2 separate regions of the Homo sapiens genome follow, and region 1 is linked to region 2. The links are contacts of gene promoters, found by promoter capture Hi-C in human tissues and cell types (Jung and others, 2019). All regions are on one chromosome and are shown on one strand. The core of a region is centred on a gene start or on the middle of the fragment in contact, and the rest is flanking DNA. Distances in the headings are between cores, read along the strand shown.

Evidence for each region. Contacts are between HindIII fragments. The study calls those that stand out against the background at their distance.
Region 1: a contact is called between the fragment with the promoter of GORASP2 here and the fragment with the promoter of DLX2 in region 2, in 1 of the 25 tissues and cell types used here (lymphoblastoid cells).

The regions. Positions count from the first base shown.
Region 1 is chr2:170,927,333-170,930,755 of GRCh38, forward strand. GORASP2 (golgi reassembly stacking protein 2) reads left to right here and starts at 1,921. Exons shown (of 10, transcript NM_015530.5): 1 at 1,921-2,071. The coding sequence starts at 2,009. RefSeq lists a silencer at 1,700-2,399. The HindIII fragment of the contact is 18,146 bases long and covers 1-3,423 here.
Region 2 is chr2:172,100,846-172,104,603 of GRCh38, forward strand. DLX2 (distal-less homeobox 2) reads right to left here and starts at 2,055. Exons shown (of 3, transcript NM_004405.4): 1 at 1,294-2,055; 2 at 617-801; 3 at 1-99. The coding sequence starts at 1,693. DLX2-DT (DLX2 divergent transcript) reads left to right here and starts at 2,161. Exons shown (of 5, transcript NR_126376.1): 1 at 2,161-2,423; 2 at 3,093-3,187. RefSeq lists a silencer at 1,857-2,056. The HindIII fragment of the contact is 12,259 bases long and covers 1-3,758 here.

The DNA of each region.
Region 1 (3,423 bases), core at 671-3,170, 1.2 Mb before region 2:
GCAGCCACTCATGAGGCTGAAACATACACTACAGCTCTAAGGAAGGGCTGGACTTGCCCATGGACCACCAACGATCCACAGCCTGGGTTCTATAGGCCGCGGCTGCCATCAGACATATGGGAGACAACTGGTCCAAAAATTTTGACCACTGAACATGGCAGCAGCTTCCATCATAAAGAGGGTTATAATTGCCAAGCAGAATGAGAACATTATAATTAGATCTAGTTCTTCCATTTATTCTCTTGCATTAAATGTATTAATTTGTTGAATTAGCTGCTAGGCATTCTGGTAAATATCAAGAACATAGAGCCAACTCCACTGCAGACCCTGTCCTTGAGGAGCCTAATAACTGGAGATTTCATTTATGGATTTATGGATTTATTAGGCCTCCTAAAAATCTGCTATTCACTTACCGATAGCAAAGAAAATTATTTTTAAATTTTAAATAATATTTTCTTATTACAAAAGCACTTCATGAGCATCATAGAATATGGAACCAGCCAAAACAAAAAATAAAATATCTCTGTCACCACCCAGAGATCACCACTGTAACCCTTGGTTCATATTCTCCTCCCACATCTTCATATGCATACATACATATTAATCTGTATTTTGAGGACATGTTTTTCATTTTGTCTACAGACACATCCCGTCTTGTAACCAGCTTTTAAAAAAGACAATAATTTCCACGTTTCCATGTGAATAACTACTCTTCTAATACTCAGTACATATTCAAATTTCTCCAAATGAACCAAAAATGTCCTTTACGCTTATTTCTCCAAGTTGGCCCCCAACTCAAGCCCTTGCAATGTGTCTCTTGGTTATATTCTTCGGGTTCCTTTTAATCTGGCATAGGCCCTTTCATAGGACTCTGACTCGACAAAGAGAACTGGCCAGCTGTCCTGAAGGAAGGCCCACTTCCTGTATTTGCCTGGTTCCCTGTGGTGTCATTTTACTTGCTCCTCAATTCCCCTTACTTCCTGTAAACATCAAACTCAAGATGCCATAGAGGCAAGTTAACCACCTTGGGCTAGAATACTTCATGGGCGATAGCACGTACTTTACATTGCATCACATAGGAATCCACATAATACCTGGTTGACGCAACATCAGTCCAACTGACCACAAAGCAACTAGGGGTTTCAGAGGGAGTACACGTAAGGGGCAAAAGCAGCAACGGAATACGACAACGGAATAAGCATGAATACGACCTGGCTACCTGAAGGAGGTAGGACGGGGAACCGAGCAGCAGCAGGTGGTGGAATGCCAGGGAAATCCAACCGTGCTTCCCACGCTGGCATCGCTCTGATTATGACCAATCCTCTAATCTTATTCTCACAATTAGGGAGGAAGAAAAAAAAACAAACCCAAACCAAAAAAGAAGTTGGTAGGTGACTCTGTGAGACTACTGTTTTATAAAGGGAGCGTTTCCTTTTATAAAATTTAGCTGAGCAGATGCTAGGCAGCCCACAGGAGGCCACTATTCCCCTCAGCTGTACAGTTTGGGAAAATACCTACACACCCGGAGAACAGAGAGCTTGGTGTGTGTTGAGTTCGCTCCTGTTCATCAGCAGCCCTTTCCCCGCCTCTGGCCACCAGGGGGACCTGCAACCAAGTATGTGTTCTTTCAGGCGAGCGGGAACGCGTCTGCATAAATCTAGTCCAATCCAGGGCCCCGTAGCAAGGCGCCAAAGCTGGGGGAAGCGCATTTCTGTTCTCTCGCGAGCACGACGCGGTGCCTCCCAGTCCTCCTCCGGCCCTCCCTCTCCGCCCTCCCGGCCCGCGAGCGCTCGGGCCCCTTCCAGTGGCTCGCGGCAGGTGGCGCTGTCTGCGGCGTCGCAGCGGCCCGGGCTGCAGCAGAGACGATCTCCCGGCGGGCTGTGCGGCCCGGCTCTCCGGCGGCAGCGAGTGCCACGTCCCAAGTGCTACGCGGAGGATTAGAGCAGGCGGTGCGCTGGGGGCGGGAGCAGCGCGGAGCCCGGCTCGGCCACACCGATCGCCCGCCGCCATGGGCTCCTCGCAAAGCGTCGAGATCCCGGGCGGGGGCACCGAGGGCTACCACGTTCTGCGGGTAAGGGCTCCGACGGCGGCCGGGGAGCTGCGGGCTGGAGGCGGGGCCGGCCGCGGGGAGGCGGAGGCCCCCATGGGCTCCTTCACGGGGCAGCCAGGCCCGATCCCGCGAAGGAGCGGCGGTCGCGGGCGCTGCCTTGGTCGAGGCTGGTTCCGGAGGCCGCTCGCATCCCACCTCCGCGGAGCGCCCTGGGCACGGGGTCCGCGGCTGTAGGAGGACGGGCTGGAGCTGGAGGCGGCTGCCGGCGACTCGGCCAGGGGGCGGCCCTGGGAAGGGGGGACAACCTTGCTCTTTTTCCGCACGGCCTTCTCTCTCCTCCACCCCCCCTCATTTTTAGCTTCCAAAGTTAGGAAGGGCGCGGAGGCAACGTCTCCAAAGTGGTGACTGTGAAGGCAGCCTTTGCGCTTTCCTAGGAGAGGGATCCGGACCCGCAGTCCGGAGGCGGGGCCTGCGGCGGCAGGTGTTAAATCACCTCGGCGCCGGCCGAGTGGCCTGAAAGACCAGCAGGGCAGGAGACGGAAAACCAAATGGCCTGGAAGTAGGTTCGACGGACTTAAACAGACTTGATTTTGACCAGACTTTTCCTTTCCCGTGCCACTCCTGACCCTCCCAAACCTTCTCAAGATTTCCTGGAGTGGGAACTTCCGTTCTGTTCCGATTGCTGAGGGTGTGGTTTAGATTATAAGGTTTAGATCCACAGTGGTAAAGAGGTAGTGCAGAGAAATTTTTTTTAAAAATCGGAGTATATAAAGGAAAACAACCCTAGCTTAACTTCCAGGACGCAGAGAAACATAGTATCTCAAAAGGCGTCAGCTAAGCCCCTACCTATGAACGGCCTGGGCCTGGGTGGTACAAAGCATGTGGTCTTTTCCTCATGGAACCGGGCGACTTTAGAAGTAGCATTGATGGTTGTTTGCTGTGACACCTGTGTGAGTGTTAACATGAACAGTCAACAGAGTGGCCGCAGCGTGTAGCGCCATTTAGGGGTGTAATAGAGTGTCACTCAATATTAGCTCCTCACAGGCAAGAACGTTTTCACTGAAAGTAAGAGAGTGCACTTCCTGGTGCTACCTTCATTTCCTGCCCTGGGTCCCATGTTTTAGGTGAGACACATTCTTAAATTGCCCAGCTGTCTATGTGATAGGGCTGAGACAGATCATCTTTCTGATCTTCCGGATTATCGTGTCTATTGCCTTTCCATTACACTAAAAATCCCTCCTCTGCCATACTCTTAGTAGGAAAGGGTGATTTTTTTTTTCCCCGAAAGGAAAAGGGAGCCTATAAATAAACCGTATTATCTTCCTATCCCCTTCTGCTAACCAAACACCCAAGAGCCACACTGAGAGAGGAAA
Region 2 (3,758 bases), core at 805-3,304:
TGGAGAAGCGCTGGCCCCAGGGTGCTGCTCCGAGGGGATCTCACCACTTTTCCACATCTTCTTGAACTTGGACCGGCGGTTCTGGAACCAGATTTTGACCTTTGAGGAAAAAGACCTGAGCATTAGTGGAGGAACCTAGTCTTGGGGCAGTAGGGGTTCGAAGAGGAGAAAAAAGAAGGCAGAGAAAAACCGCTGGCTAGCGGTGGGCAGCGAGCGCCCTGGGGAGATAAGAGGATCACGGGCGGCGGCCTTCGAGGCTCTGCCGGTTCCTGCTCCCTGGGGAGGTAATTGCCAAAAGGCCAGGACTGCTGGTGTACGTGCACTGTGATGATGGTGACAGCGGGAGGGTGAGGAGGGCCAGTTATTTCACCCGCTTAATCAGTAGCGAGAGGTACGGGATTTCTGTCCACCCGGTCCCTTTCCTTCCCTCCCACGGCGGCCCCTTGGGGGTTTCCAGCTTTGGGCCTAGAAGCTTACTTAGGGCCGCTCGAGGCGCAGGCCTGGAAATCCTTAAAAGTACTTAAAATGAACTTTAAAAAGCATTGTCCTAAACCCGCCTGCTTCCCAGCCATCTCAGGCCCGCGCTCTCCTCGCCCCTGCAGGGCGCGAGCCCCACCTGAGTCTGGGTGAGGCCCAGAGAGGCCGCCAGCTCGGCTCGCTCCGGCAAGGCCAAGTATTGAGTCTTTTGGAAACGCCGCTGAAGAGCCGCCAGCTGGAAACTGGAGTAGATGGTGCGGGGTTTCCGGACTTTCTTTGGCTTCCCGTTCACTATCCGAATTTCAGGCTCAAGGTCCTCCTTCTCTGCAACGATAAAGAATCGTAAGAACAGCGCAACCCAGGGGTCCTGGAGTTCCCGCCCTCCTAGAGGGCCCGGCGGGGGGGACTTGGCTTGAGCAAAGAGGTGGGTGCACTGAACTGTGGCGCCACGGGCAGGCGCAACTTCGCAGCGTGCGATCGGAGCCGCCACCGACCCCGGGAGCTGTACCCTCCAGGGAAGGGGGAGACAAGTGCACACCCAAGAGAAAGAAGCTGGTGGCAAGGAGATGCCCTTATGAGGCAGGCAGAGCACGCCCACTTGGCTCTTGAGGCCACCAGGTCCTACCAAAGGAGAGAGGGACGTAACCGGCGACCTGCGGCAGATTGGAGGCTGGGGAGGGTAAAGGGCACAAGCGGGCGGTGAGCAGGCAGCGTGAAAATCCAGAGCTTTCGAAGGCCCCCCGCCCCAAACACGTTTACCCATCCATCCCATTAACTAGACCGACTCGGCACTCTTGACTTCAGCGTTATGCATACCAGGCTCGTTGTTGGCTGGGGACGAACTGGTTCCATAGGGAGCGTAGGAGGTGTAGGCGGCGGTGTAGCCCAGGTCATAGCTGCTCTTGGCGGAGTAAGGGACGTTGTTGAGGCCGCTGGCTTGGTACTGGTAGGAACCCATGTGCGCGTAGGGCGAGCCCCCGCCGCCGCCGCCGCCCGCCGGGTGCTGCTGGTTGGTGTAGTAGCTGCTGTCGGTGGCGGTGGACACCGGAAGGGTGGGCGACTCCTGGGGCTTGTGGAGGCTGCTGCTGCTGCTGCTGTTGCCACCCGGGCCGGCGCCGCCGCCGCTCGGGGGCTGCTGGTGCTGGTGGTACGTGCTGGAGGCGGCGATCTGGGTCGAGTGCATATCAGCCACTAGACTGTCAAAGACTCCAGTCATCCTGGCCCGAGACGGGAAAGAGCAGAGGTGGCGGGCGTGCGGGGGAAGCCAGGCGCCTCCTCTGTCTCTCCCGGTCCCCTCCAGCAGCCAATGTAATTACGGGGGTGGTGGTGGGGAAACAAGAAAGGAGGCAACCGTCTAGGCGCCTCCTCCTCCGGGGGAGGCGATCACCGTGCGCTGCTCGGGACAGCTGCCTCTGGTCGCATCCTCTTTCGGCCTCTGGGCCCGCTCGGCTCCTTGCCCAGCGCGAGCGCGGGCTCTGGCGGGGGGCGGGCAGTGGAGGGGGCAGGGGTGGCTGGGCCGGGTCGGGGCTCTGGGAGGCGGGAGCAGGTGAGCGGCCCCGAGCGGCTTTACGATTGTCTGCCAGGCGGGCTCCTGAAGTGTGGGCATTTAACACTCGTCACGTGAGCGCTGGCGACGTCACCTAGCAACAGCCAATCAGAAGCAAACGGCCGCGGAGCTCCGGGAACGCCCGGCCAAGGGGCGGGCGTCACATGGTGGGCGCTGTGGCTGCGGCTGCGGCTGCAGCGGCCCCAGGTGCAAACAGACTGCCGCCGAATGTGAGCAGCGAGGCGAGGGGTCGAGGTAGCGAGGAGTCAGGGTGGCCCGCAGCAGGAAGACAGAAGGCGTGGAGACAGACTGGCGTTTTGCCTCAGAGGAAGAAGTGGGGTCCCCTCTCCCATTCTGTGAGCAAGTGCCAGTTCCAGTGATTCGTACTTTCATGTCCGAGGTCAGTTTTCAAACACATTAAAGTACATCGGTGCCCAGAGTCCAGCCAGCTCTATCTTCACTTTTCCTCGAAGTGTCTGGCATTTATTCTTGTTAGCCACTCGGCACTTGACATAATCAATTGATTTAATTATCCACAAACCACGTGTAATGCTCGCTTCTTAACCAATCCGCAGGGATATTAGGACAATTAATCATATAATATTGAAACGGGTTTTCCTTGTTGCTTCAAAGAGAAGCTACATAAACTTAAAGGTATTATTGCTAATAGTATATTTGAAACCACTTTCCCTGGTACTTTCCCGACACGCGAGACTCTGAGTAATTATATACGTTTGATAAGTAAATGACACCCTGAAAGCCATCCCGAGGACTTCCTCCTTCGGGTGGAAAGGTTCACCAGTTGTCCTTGAAAATTCGATGCTCTTGCGAAAAAGGAAATAGGATAATAGGTGAGATTATAGATTTATCAAGTAGATACTAGATTTATCACTTCTCTGTAAATTTACAACAAATATAAAAAGTTTTATCTGGTTTGTTGAATTTAATCCTGTTTTACAGTTTTGCATTTTAGGACCCTGTTCTACCCTATCATTGCAATTTTTTTCTTTTCCCTCTGTTTTTTAAAAAATCGGAAATGGTGACTTCCTCTGTCTCTATAACCTTGTAGTTGGAAACCTTGGCCCGACGGTGATGGACTGCACGACTTGCTGGACTCCCAAGTCCGAAGTTCCTGCGGCAGCGCTTGCTTTGTGGCGCCACCTGGTGGGCAGTGTGCGAGGTTGCGGGGGGCGGGGTAGACGGTCTAATCACGCCCAGGCGCCAGCCTCTGAAACCCCCCAAAAGAACAAAATAGTAATTAAAAGCCACAAAATTGTGCTAGTGCGCACCATCTGAAGCACCCTTTCCTAAAGACATAACATGTCGCTGAAAGAACTTGTTAAAACAACTGTCTGATAGAAAACAAGTTGATACCTTCAAAAATATGATCTTTGGTCTTCTTCCCCATAAAAAGCAAGTGTGTAATTAAAACTCCAGCATTCACACAGAGAAATAATGAGATAGGTAATGCGCCTTTAAGTCTACCTGGATTTAGTTCCCAGCTTTTTTTTGGTTAAGGAAGGCCCCTAGATGGAAAGCGCCAGCTTATGAGAAACGTTGGAGGTGGAGCTCACCTCCACCCACCTGCATTGCTTTATGCGGTTCTCTGCCTACTTTGTGGGCCTCAGCTGCAAAACCAACCTCTTGATATTGAAACATGATTGCCTTTTGGTGTTTTTTTGTTTGTTTTTGTTTTTTTGAGACGGAGTCTCACTCTGTCACCCAGGCTGGAGTG